Regions from separate parts of the Homo sapiens genome. Here all the other regions are linked to region 1. The links are contacts of gene promoters, found by promoter capture Hi-C in blood cells and fetal thymus (Javierre and others, 2016). All regions are on one chromosome and are shown on one strand. Each heading gives the region's core, a stretch centred on a gene start or on the middle of the fragment in contact. The rest is flanking DNA. Distances are from core to core; before and after follow the strand shown. Region 1 holds the start of PTHLH (parathyroid hormone like hormone). Region 2 has its middle 17 kb from the start of CCDC91. Region 3 has its middle 36 kb from the start of CCDC91.

The links. Contacts are between HindIII fragments. The CHiCAGO score rates a contact against its expected background, and 5 or more counts as called.
Region 2: a fragment that was not itself captured here is called in contact with the fragment with the promoter of PTHLH in region 1 in 2 of 17 cell types (endothelial precursors and megakaryocytes); the score reaches 10.8 in endothelial precursors.
Region 3: a fragment that was not itself captured here is called in contact with the fragment with the promoter of PTHLH in region 1 in 1 of 17 cell types (endothelial precursors); the score reaches 5.3 in endothelial precursors.

What each region holds. Positions count from the first base shown.
Region 1 is chr12:27,970,332-27,974,460 of GRCh38, forward strand. It overlaps PTHLH (parathyroid hormone like hormone), which reads right to left and starts at 2,402. Exons shown (of 6, transcript NM_198965.2): 1 at 2,192-2,402; 2 at 1,596-1,688. The HindIII fragment of the contact is 3,977 bases long and covers 2,322-4,129 here.
Region 2 is chr12:28,171,571-28,175,699 of GRCh38, forward strand. No RefSeq gene overlaps it. Among named protein-coding and RNA genes, the nearest start is that of CCDC91, 17 kb to the right of the region's middle. The HindIII fragment of the contact is 769 bases long and covers 1,316-2,084 here.
Region 3 is chr12:28,152,501-28,156,629 of GRCh38, forward strand. No RefSeq gene overlaps it. Among named protein-coding and RNA genes, the nearest start is that of CCDC91, 36 kb to the right of the region's middle. The HindIII fragment of the contact is 691 bases long and covers 1,918-2,608 here.

The DNA.
Region 1 (4,129 bases), core at 1,152-3,651:
GGCGCAGGCGGGCTGGCGGGCGGGCGCGCGGGGGGCGGGGGCGGCGACGGGCGGCCCGAACGGGCCCCGCGCCGCCCGAGCGAGTGGAGGGGAGCCCCGAGCCGGGAATGAGCGGCGAGCGGCGGAGCTCCCCCCTCCCGCGCTGCCGACCCCGGAGCTGTCAGGAGCTCTGCCGAGCCCCACCCCGGAGCCCGGGCCCTGTCGCGCCATCCCCGTGCCGGGGGCGTGGGCGCATCCGCTTGCTCCCTCCAGGCCCGGCCGGCTCCTGCCGGCGCGGCGGATCCGGGAGCCGAGATCCCCGAGGGCGTGCGGACTGCCCCGGGCAGCCGGCGGTCCCCGGCGCGCCGAGCTGGACGAGCGGGCGCCAAGACCACCAGGGGCGGACCGACGAGGAGGAGGCCAAGGAGCTGGGCCGGGGACCGCGGGCAACCGGGAGCCTGCGCGGAGAGGACGCGGGCTGTTGGCCTGTGAATTTAAGGAGCCCGAAGCTCGCCTGGCAGCTCGGGGCGATGCATGAGAACCTTCCTCCCTGGCCCATTCCCGGGATGAACTGAGTGGGGAGCATCGGCTAGAGAGAGGGAGATCTTTTGCTTAGAAGAACAAAAACAGTTCCAGATTTCATATCTAAATTGCACTTTTTGCTGTTTCAGAACTGCTGGGAGACATCTGGAGCCGGTCCCAAAAAACCCGCGCACAGGAGAGATCCCCCTTTTGAATTGCAGAGGGGGACCGACACTCCTGGAGCACGCACACGGCCCTTTTCACTCATGGTCGGGAGTCTAACCCATCCTTTCTCTGATACCCTACCTGCTTGTCCCCTCCCCCTCAAAAGTCCCAGGTTACAGATTCTTGGAAGACTGTATCCGAGTCGCTGCAGCCAGCGGACAGATGCAGTGGAACTATGGTTATGTGCTGCTCTGCCTGGGAGAAGCGACGGGAAAGCCGAGGTTCTTTCCAAAGCTAATGGGCGGGGAAGAAAGACTGCTCGGAATTACTGGGTAGTATCATCTAGGAAAGGATTGCAGCGGGAGTGGATACCCTCCCCAGGGCTCCTCTAACTTTTTGAAAAGAGCGCGAGTGGACTGGGAACCATTCAAGGGATATTTGTCTTCTAGGCAATCCTGCTGGTAGGGTTCATTAGTTTCTAGAAGGCTAGTGTGATTTAGATTCTTGAGATGATTCAAGGAATGTGGCCTTTATCAAGCCCGACTTTCCGGGTGATGCTCCACATATTTTACCCAGGGTGGGAGAAATAGCACGCTGTCACCGAGACCCTCGCTCATCGGGGCTCCCACTGGTTCACTGCAGCTAGCTAGCAGTTAAAGTTTACTGCTTAGGTTGGGTGGGGGGGCATATTTTCTTAGAAGCTCCTGCCTTCCTCAGTTCATTACTGTAAACCCCGTACCTTAAAAGACTCGGCTTCTTCTCACTAACAAAGAAAAAAAGCAAAACAAAACCAAAACACACACACGCACACACACACACTCTCTCTCTGGGAATTTCCACAACTTCCCTTGAATGTGTAAGGATTTCTAAATGTTAGACTTGTTTGGATAGTATGAAAGGACAAAGTATCAGCACTCAGAAATGTCAACCTTTGAACCTCGAACACTTTCTGATTTATAAAAAGAATCCTTCCAAAAAGATGCAGGAGCCCTAATGTAATCGTTAGATCTGAAGGGGGAAATCTGTAAAAAAAAAAAAAAAAAAAAAAAAAAAGTCAATCACAAATGAGCCATTTAATACTTGCAAGTTGTTTAACATTGAAATGATAATATTTGCTTCCACAATAAAAAGTCCAAGGTACCTAGCCAAGTTTCAAACTATCCAGGCTTTAAAAAGTCAACCCTTCTCCCAATAGAAGGTTAAAACAAAAATCAGATTGAAATTATCAAATCACTTATGTTGTAAATAAATTCACTTTACTTTCAGAACATTATAAATTAAGGACTGGCATCAATAGACTGCTTTGATTTATGTTGCTTTTTCTACTAATTAAACAAAATTAACCCCCCACTCCTTCCCTCCTTTCTTTTTCCCCACACACTTTTCTGGTGTTAATGGCAAAACATCTATCAAATATTTTTAGAATTTCCTCTCCTCCACAAAAAGAGAAAATATAGACACAGGAAAAATAAATAGTCTTTATATACTCGGAATACCAAAGTTCCCTCCTAATTTATTACTTCACCTTTTCCTTGATTTACAATCTTCTCTCTGCTCTTCTGGCTGAAAGAGGGAAATCTTCTCAGCAGTCTTTTCCAGAAATATTTTTTGTTGTTCTTCAGAAAACATAAAATTAAATCTTAAAATGAATTAAAAGCTTCTTGAAAGGAGACTTCTGTTCCCACTAAAGGCAATTATTAGAAAGCAGGTACCTCTTCCAAGCTGCCCTGTTTATTACTTTCCGTAGAAATTCTCCTCAATATATACCCAGGACCCTGACTTTTTGCCTGTTTTGGAAAGGATATTTTCTGACATCATAATCTAGTTCCTAACATAACTGAGTAATCTCCATCATAATAATGCAGAGGATGCATGACTGCAAATGAGACACAGCAAGAGCACCCCCTACCACCTCCCTCCCCCCCCCGTCCCCCCAGCCCACACACACACCTTTTTTCTAAGGTTTAGAAATAGAACAAGTGCCAATAGAAGCTAAATGTTTGCTTAGGCCTTGCTGTCATGTAAATGCACCTTAGCAAATGGGAAGGCCTGCCTCTAATCTGAAGTATTTCCATGTTTAGCATTATAAGATCTACACCTACACAAATGCCTAGCCCATGAGCACCAGGCTTCCATCTTCCCATCCCCAGTGGCAGTTTATTACAGTATATCAAATTTTAAAAGAGGTTGAAAAAATTTTAAATGCATTACTCTTAAATTCAGTTGAATACCCAGTTAATGTATATCTCCTGTCATAGCTTAGAAAAAAGTAAATAGCATTTATGCTTAGCCTCTTCATCCTTCTTTCTTCTTTCCTCCTTAACCCAAACAGCAAACAGATATACATTATAAACCAAATATGAATCTATAGCACTTTAAACAGTGCACCTGGGCTTGGGAATTCTCTTATTACCAATAAGCATCCAGATTTCACATTTACCAATCTGTAGCTGCAAGCTATGTCTCTAAAATCCCCTGGAACCAAACAACTAAACTCATCCCATCTCTTCTCCAAACTTTTTTCAATGTTTACAAAGAGACGTTGCATAATCAGCTCAAGTAATGCTCTCATTGGATTCCATTAGAATGTGGCTCTCATCGCTCGCCTGGACTGAGACTTGAGAGGAGGCTGTTGCCAGCTGACCTCAAGGTAGCAAAAAAGAAAAAAAGATGTAATGCCTTCAAACCCCAAGTAACAATAGGAAAGGGTGTGTTTCTTTATTAAATCTTTTTGTAGTTAGGTGAGGATAAGACTTCTCCAGGAACAGGGCGGGCTGCTAACCTCTGGAGGAACTGCCTCAGGGAGGAGTGTATAGATATGCATCAAGCTGATGGGATCCTCCCATGGGAAAAGTGGGCCTCACACCCTTCCTCACCCTTCCCTACTTCCTGGGCAATGTTCTGCTTCCCCCAAACTGAAGCAGGAGGCCCAGAGAGGAGGCGGTTTCCTGGGAGGAACCCAAACCAATGTGAGATGAGAAGGTCTTTAGGAAATGGGGGTCTCTGAGAACCGGTTCTTAAAGGTCAAGCACTTGAGCACCTCGCAAACTCCTGACAATTGAAACATATCTGAAGAGTCTTCTTCAGATATGTCTCTGTGTGTGTGTGTGTGTGTGTGTGTGTGTGTGTGTGAGAGAGAGAGAGAGAGAGAGAGAGAGAGAATATGAATGTGCAGTGTCCCAGTCCTGATCTCCTGGACTGGTGCCAGCCAGCCAGATGCCTGCCCTTGGCTGGCCAAGTTTTTGGCTCCTGAAAGTAGGCAGCTCTGGACTTGTACGAGGCCACAGAGAGAGTTCCAAGCCCCACCTGGCTCAGGCGACAACCTCTCAACCTGAAGTCAATCTCCGGTGGCATCACAGGGCCCTCCTGGCAGCAGCCCAGTTCCCCACATGAACCGAATGGTCCTTTCTTAAATTTTGAGCCGGGGGCTGCCTAAAAGGGGCTGCCCCCGCAAGCATTTTAC
Region 2 (4,129 bases), core at 450-2,949, 200 kb after region 1:
TCTCTCTTTACCCCACCCACATCTACTTAGTTTTTACTCATACCAATTCTACTTTTACAGAATCCCTTGCTTGCCTTCTTTATTCAATCTCAAAGCCTACAGGATTAATGAGATACCTTTTTAACAGATCTCCCTACCTTTGGGAGCTTATTTATCAGTCCATCCCACAAAAAAACTGCTATATCAATTTTTTTAGTACAAAATGCTGAAGCTGATCTTTTACTCCTATAACAACTTCCTGTTGTCAGTTCAGTTTTTGGAGTATGGCTGGTATTCAGTACACTCAAAGACATATTCACTCTATGACTCTTTAGCATTATTTCCCACTACTACCTTTCATATACCCTAACCGTCTAGGTCCTTTAATTTTGTGCATCCATGATGTTTTCTTTATTTGGCATGTGCTTTCATTACTCTCAATATGTCCAAATGCTTTCTGCCTCACCTGTGAGACTCAGCTCAAATTTTGAACCCTTTCCAAATGCCTTTATCTTTTCCTTCACTGAATTCTCTTAGTATTTTATATGTAACTCCCACTTTATGTAATTTTGATAGTGTATTAATTTTCATTTACACTTTAATCCCTTGATAGATTTCAAGTTTCTTGTAAGCAGGATTTATAGGTACTTTATCTTGTTATATCCCACATTCTAATTGTTCGATTAATATTCACTGAATAAATCTGTATGCAATACTGGAAACTCTTGAGAATTCAGGTGTGAGATATGTGAAGCAAGGCAATTTATCGACCAGTGGATATTATACATTTTTAAGTCTAAAAGAGACACTTGACCTCAGCAATGCCAAAATCATTGTCATAAAATTGAAACTATTATACAGAATTCACTAAAACCTTATTACATGATCTCTCATGCGGTAATTGGTTAATTTTTCAATGTTAAGAATTCCATGTACAGGGCACAGTACAACAAATCTAATAAACAACTTTCATAACCTATTGTCTTGCCTGTTGTCTGGTTCTGATTATTTGACATTGGTTTTTCCATAGGAGACATCCAATGCAGGAAGCAAAAGAGTTGATTACTGCACACTGCCCTCTGGTGAGCCACATGGGTAATCTAGAGGGGGAAATTCAGAGTTGAGAATGTAATTCACTCTCCATGCCTAGGATGCCAGTTAGTGCCAAAGAATTATGTCACATTTTGTGATGTGATCACTTCTCTCAACTGTATACTCTCCTGAGCCTACTAATTCTTTCCATGCAGGTCATCAAATGGCCATCAGTTGGTAAAATTTTCCTCTTCATTTAGCCAAAAATGGATCCAGAATATTTGTAATGAGTCTTACTAACCCAAGCTTTTCAAAAAATTGTGCTATTACTTCTACCATGACATTTCCCTGCATCTTCATATATCCCCAAAGCATTGTATGAAAACAATGGTAAAACATGTTGTATTAGTCCGTTCTAGCATTGCTATAAGGAACTACATGCAACTCGGTAATTTATGAAGAAAAGAGGTTTAGTTGACTCATGGTTCCACAGGCTATACAGGAAGCATGGCTAGGGAGGCCTCAGGAAACTTACAATCATGGTGGAAGGTGAAGGGGAAGCAGGCACATCTTCACATGGTGCAGCAGGAGAGAGAGAGCAAAGAGGGAAGTGCTACACACTTTTAAACAACCAGATCTCATGAGAACTCACTATCACGAGAACAGCAAGGGGGAATCTGCCCCCAAGATCCAATCACATCCCACCAGGCCCCTCCTCCAACACTGAGTATTACAATTTGACATGAGATTTGGGTGGGGACACAGAGCCAAACCATATCACATATTGTTCTCAGCTTGCAGAGAAGTCAGATTCTTTGTAATTGACATGCTAAATTCTCTACATTCACATAAACGAGTCTTATTTCATATATAAAAACATGGAGCTTTCTCATTCTTGAGGAGAAGTCCAAAAATCAAATAATCAATCTTATAACATTAGAAGTACTCTTTGATTTGGAAGGACCACAGGTATGTCTAGCTTTTGACCATATCAAAACTGCCATATTGCTGGGTGATATTACTCATTTATTACCAGCTGACTGAATACCATTCACAGCTAAATCAATAATGAAAGCTTCAGAACAGGTATGAAACCACTCAAACCTCACATTCTAGGAGGTACACAAATAACCCAGTGTCTAACGTTCATTAGCTTCTGAAATCAACTCTATTTGCTGTTTGTACACAAGTATATTTGTCCATTTTTAATTCTATTCCTAACTTCAGGAATCTGCATTTTGTAAAAGTTATACAAATAATGGATGATCTTCAAATAAGTGTAAATATCCTTACTGAAAAAAAAAACACTTGTAAAAACATAGAATAAATGCTTTCTTGTTTAACGGAGTGCTAAACTTGATAAAAATATGTCCCCATTTATCAAAATTTTGACTCTTCAAAATCCAAGCAACTGATTGATCATCTAGAACCTACTAAAATAGAAATGTAATTTTTCCTTACGTTCTTTATCATGCAGTTGAAAGTTTAAATTATATAAGAACAAAAAAGGGGGTAAGGAGGAAGCTGGAGGGCCAAAGTGAGGGTGGAATTTTTCAAAAAAAGAAAAAAAAAATATAAGAACCACATCCTTTCTTGAATCTCAATCTTTTAATTGTCTGAGGCCATTTATGCGCAAACTCAGTAAACTGGTTTTTACTTATTGTTAATTTATTTTGCTTTCAAATAAGAAAGCCTTCTGTGAGACACTTTCCTGCTGGTTTCTGCTGATTTGTTGCTTAACTGTGGGTACTAGTTTCCTGAATTCAGAGAGGAGTTCAAATAAAATTGCATCTAAGTTCATTTAACTGTAAAACTCTGTTTCTAATGATATCAGACATTAATGAATAATGATTTTAAACCAACAGATATTAACTGTATGTGTACTATATATTTAAACTCAATTTTTGTATTGTATATTATGTAGCTTAAAAGGTACCATAAGGATAAATGGTATATATCAAATTGCAATTTCCCATAGAAATAATTCACTCAGTTTTGTTTTCATTTTGTTTGTTTTTAATCTTCTCTTTTGACTACATTTGAGAGGGAATTTCTGGCTAGCACAGAATCCTTTTTAATTTGTTTCTGTATAATGTGCAGCAGATATACTTAATTAATGAACTGATTAGCAACTTCCTTAATTACTTTCCAGTAGTTTTTTTCATTATTAAATGTTCAGCCTTTGAATGAATATCTACCAATATATGCCATCACAATTTAATCAAATAGAATATATCTGTATTTTGTATTGTACTGAAACCGTCTAAAATAAAGCAAATATTTATATATCAAATAGGGAAATTGACAGCATTGTATGTGATACAACACAATATTATAATGCATTATATGAAGTCCTTAGTTTGCTTTTTCTTATATCTAATTTGTTTTGGTTGGTACCATGCAAAAAATAAAAGGCAACCACTAAGTCATAGAATTTAAATGGCATATTTTAAATGACTTTGACAATTTGTATATAATGTTGACTGACATCTTATCTTCATATAAGGCTTTACAGTTTTTTAATTAATAAACTTTATTTCTTAGAGCAGTTTTAGTTTCACAAACAGCAGAAAGTACAGAGTTCCCATATATTCCCTGTCCCCACACATGCCTTACACCCCTACTACCAGAGTACACGTGTTACAGTTGATAAACCTACATTGACACATCATTACACACAAAGCTCATGGTTTACATGAGGGTTCACTCTTGATGTTGTATATTCAATAGGTTTTGACAAATGTATAATGACATATCCATCACTGTAGTACCTACAGAATAGTTTTACTGTCTGAGAAATTCTCTGTGCTCTGCCTATTCACCCTTTTCTCCTGCCAATCCCTGTCAACCACTGATCTTTTAACTGTCTTTATGGTCTTACCTTTCCCAGAATGTCATATAGTTAGAAGCACAGTATGTAGCTTTTCACAGATTGGCTCCTTTCACTTAGTAATATGCATTTAAGTTTCTTCCTTGTCTTTTCAAGGCTTGATAGCTCATTATCTTTTCATGTTGAATAATATTCCATTGTCTGATATACCATAGTTCATTTATCCACTCACCTTCTGAGGATCTCTTGGTTCTTTTCAAGTGTTGGCAATTATGAGTAAAGCTGCTG
Region 3 (4,129 bases), core at 1,013-3,512, 180 kb after region 1:
TTTCTGAGAAATCTCCATACTGTTTTCCATAGATGTTTAACTAATTTACATTCCCACCAATGGTGTATAAGCATTCCCTTTTCTCTGCATCCATGCCAACATCTGTTGTTTTTTTTGACTTTTATTAATAGCCATTCTGACTGGTGTTAGACGATAGCTCAGTGTGGTTTTAATTTGCATTTCTCTGATGATAGTGATATTGGACATTTTTTTCATGTGTTTGTTGGCTGCTTGTATTTCTTCTTTCGAGAAATGTCTGTTCATGTCCTTTGCCCAGTTTTTAATGGGGTTGTTTGTTTTTTCTTGTGAAGTTGAATTCCTTGTAGATTCTGGATATTAGCCCTTCATCAGATGCATAGTTTGCAAATATTTCTTCCCATTCTGTGGGTTATCTGTTTACTCATAATTGGTTCTTTGGCTGTGCAAAGGTTTTTAGTTTAATTAAGTCCCATTGTCTATTTTTGTTTTTATTGCATTTGCTTTTGAGGACTTGGTCATAAATTCTTTGCCTAGGCCAATGTCCAGAAGAGTTTTTCCTAGGTTTTCTTCTAGGATTTTTATAGTTTCAGGTCTTACATTTCAGTCTTTAATCCTTCTTGAGTTAATTTTTGTATATGGTGAGAGATATGAGTCCAGTTTCATTCTTCAGCATATGGTTTTGATAGGGATTTCTTAAGCTCGACCAGCATGTTTTTAAGTATATAAGTGGAGGGAGATTATCTCTAGAACACGGGGACAAAAGAATCAAAACACATGACCCTTGCTTCCCCAAAATGAATTTCCAAAATATTGAGAAATAGCATATGCACATATGAACTAAATAGCAAAAGCAAACATCTAGCAATGTAAGCCATGCTGCGTATTGATTACTGAAGAAATGGAAAATAAGGACAAAGAACGGGAATCTTCAGGGAAATTTTTCTCATGAAGGGAAATTTTTAACAGGTCTTAAGGAAGATCATAGTAATTATACTTCAGAGGTTGCAAATTTATGGCCCATGTTTTGCTAGGCCAGCATGATGTTTTAAAAAACAACTTAGATTTGAATGCCTGTCTATGAAACATGCCTTATCCAGTTTAGCCATCCTTGGTACCACTACGTAGTGTTTTATTCCATCATTTACTCTATCGTGAGTATATTGTTTGCCTGTCAACTGAGTACATTTAAATTTGTAGCTCCTAGATGTAAGTTGTCATAAAGTAGTGGGCAATCATTCATTCTTGGGAGACGAGTATGTGCAAAGGCAAAGAGATGTGAGCCATAAATGTGTGTGTGTGAAATAGGGATGTAATAGAAATTGTCCTATATGAAGCTTAGAGACTGTTGGTGGAATTACAATAGATGAAAAATGGTTAGTTCCAGAAGGACCAAGTGATTGAGACCTGTAATTACTAGTCCAGAGAATTTAAATTTTCCCCATTAAGCAGTTGTCTACTACTTTAAGTTCTTGGGTTCAAGAGTTATTTGAGTTACTTAAAAAAAGATATTTGACTGCTATATAATGGTTAAACTTGATTGAAGAGAAAGATATGACCTTGAAAGCTTTGCAGTACTCTAGGTAGGAGATAATAGTTTGGATAAAGGGGGTAGTTCTGGAGGTGAAAAAAAACAGAAAAGAGAGTGTCCTAACAAGTAAGAGAAAAAGTGTTAGACAAGAACTATACAGAAATAAGTTATGAAACTACCGTTTCCACAGAGAGTAAGAAAATTGGTGAGAAATGGCAGGATCTAATGTGCTGTTACAAAGGTGGCAAAATAAATAAAAGCTGTTTTTCATATTAGCACACAGCAGCTCACAATCCTGTTCATGGGTTTATTGCCTTCCAGCAGTTACTCACGGCTCTAGCTGCTTGACTGTGCCTCTTGTCAAGAAAGAAATAGCAGCCATATGGGGTCTTCTGTATTTTATTCATTAAAGCTTCTTTTATTTGTTGTTTTAATGTATTTAATTCACTAAATTATTACAGATGTTTTATATTACAATGCTAATAAGAAAAATACGAAAAGATGCCCAACTTCTTTTAAGCCTGGTAGAAGTGGAAACATTTTTCCTTCTGCCTGTTCAAGTTTCAGTTGATCCTTTCTGAAAATGCTGACTTAAAATGGATGGTCTCTAACAATTTTAAGTAGTGAGAAAGGGGAACAAATTATAATTGACATTTTGAAGAAATCATTATACATTCTGCTTTGAGAAAGTTCAAGACATTGAGAATTTGGAAGCCTCATGAAGAGCCCACAAAGTGCATTATTTTTTCCCTAGTATCTTCAATACTATTTGAGTACATTAAATATATAGAAATGCTTATAGTATGTTAGCATTTTTTGGTTGTATTTGTTGAAGTGTGTGAAAATCTAAGAACCAGCTTTTGTGGATGGGTTTTGTGGGAAGTACACTTCATGTTGAACAAAGGGAGATAGTCTTCCCAAGCAAGCACTGCATTTATGTGTGATTCATATATGTGGATTAGACCACTTAGGAATAAACACAACAAAGAAAAGAAACTTCCCTCTGGGCTTCATGATTTATATGAATTAAATTTGTCACTGTTAAGGTAGATCCAGAAGGCTCACTTAAGATTGTATTCTCCAAACCCTGGGCTGCATTAAAGCTTATGATATAGCCACAGGTAACTATGTTAGATTTTTCTTTGAACTTGTCTGCTAATTGGAGCCCTGTCACTGCAGAAAGCAGTTTAAATTTAATTAAGGAACAGGAAACTCCCAAGTCTAATTTTGTCCCTGAGTTGCTGTATGGGTTGTCTCTCAGGACTTTAACAGCTGTTGAGTGAAGGTTTGTGAGTGTATACTAAAGCATAACCCAGTGAAACATCACAATCACAATCTAGCATTGTGGCTTCTTTCTACATAGGATAACTCTCCCAATTCCATACACATTGCATTAAACCATTAGACTCCTGCTTACTTTGATGCTGTTTTTAAGGGTACCTTCAAATAAGGGCCAAATTTAATAATAATATAAATTACAAGTTAAACAAATAACTCAATTTTCCTTTCTTCTAGTCTAGATGTAATTTTCCTAATTGTTTTTGGTGCTAAATCCTCCCAAAATAATCAGGTCATCTGAATCTACAGAGAAAAACTGAAATGCAATTAAATTAGAAAATGCATATAAAAAATCTTTGCAAAGAATTAGGAAATTTTAAAATATTATCAAAATACAATTTCAACAAAAACCAACTTCCCAAGACACGTTTATAAATTTCTCTAAGATTGATGTCAAGGGGATAGCAGAACTCTCCTTCCTCCATTAGCTCCTTGGAGCAGGCACAGTATGCATTCATTTTGAACAGTTTGCCTGTGGAGGCAAGAGCTTCACAAGGTACTGACATGGGAGACTTGCGCTAACATTAAATAAAATTTACAGGGGCCATTGGTTTGGGCTGAGCTCCTGCATTAGGCCCAACAAACCAAAGTAAACTGGAGTTACTGATGCTGAAGTTCCACACCATCAAGCCAAAACTAAGCTGTTTATCTGATCTTCTGAAAAACCAGGAGAGAGAGAGATTTAATAGCAAAATCCCCAAAAGAGGCCCATTTTAGCTGGCATGATAAGGAAGTCCCCACTGCTTTAAGCTTTACAAGGAAAGTAGCTGAAACGATCAATCCCTTTTTGCTCTGTTTCTGCTTTCTTCAGCTATTTTCTGCCCATAAAGCCAAACTCTCCTGCTCAGCTCGTTGGAACACTCATTCCATTTTATAGAATGAAGTGTTGCCTGATTCTAGAATTGCGAATTAAAGCAAATTTGAACTATGTTTGTTATAATTTTGTCTTTTGACACTAACCATGGATGTTCAACTTTTTTTGGTGGAAATTATATTTGCATATAGAAGAGACATAAAATATAATTAGTAAGCATTCTCAAATTGCCAACAATACTAACACTTTTAAAAAACTAGCAGTTTTATCTCAAATGAATAAAACGTTGGGATAATTCTGTGAAATCTTTCACTCCTCTTCCAAGTATGTTGCTTTGAATAAATACAGCTTAAGAATCTCCCTAACATATTGTTACCATGTTACTATGTGCTGTAAATGCAATAGTCTTAAAGACCAAATTCTAACCACAACCATGTATTTCCTTTGTTTTATATATTTAGGTCAGGCAC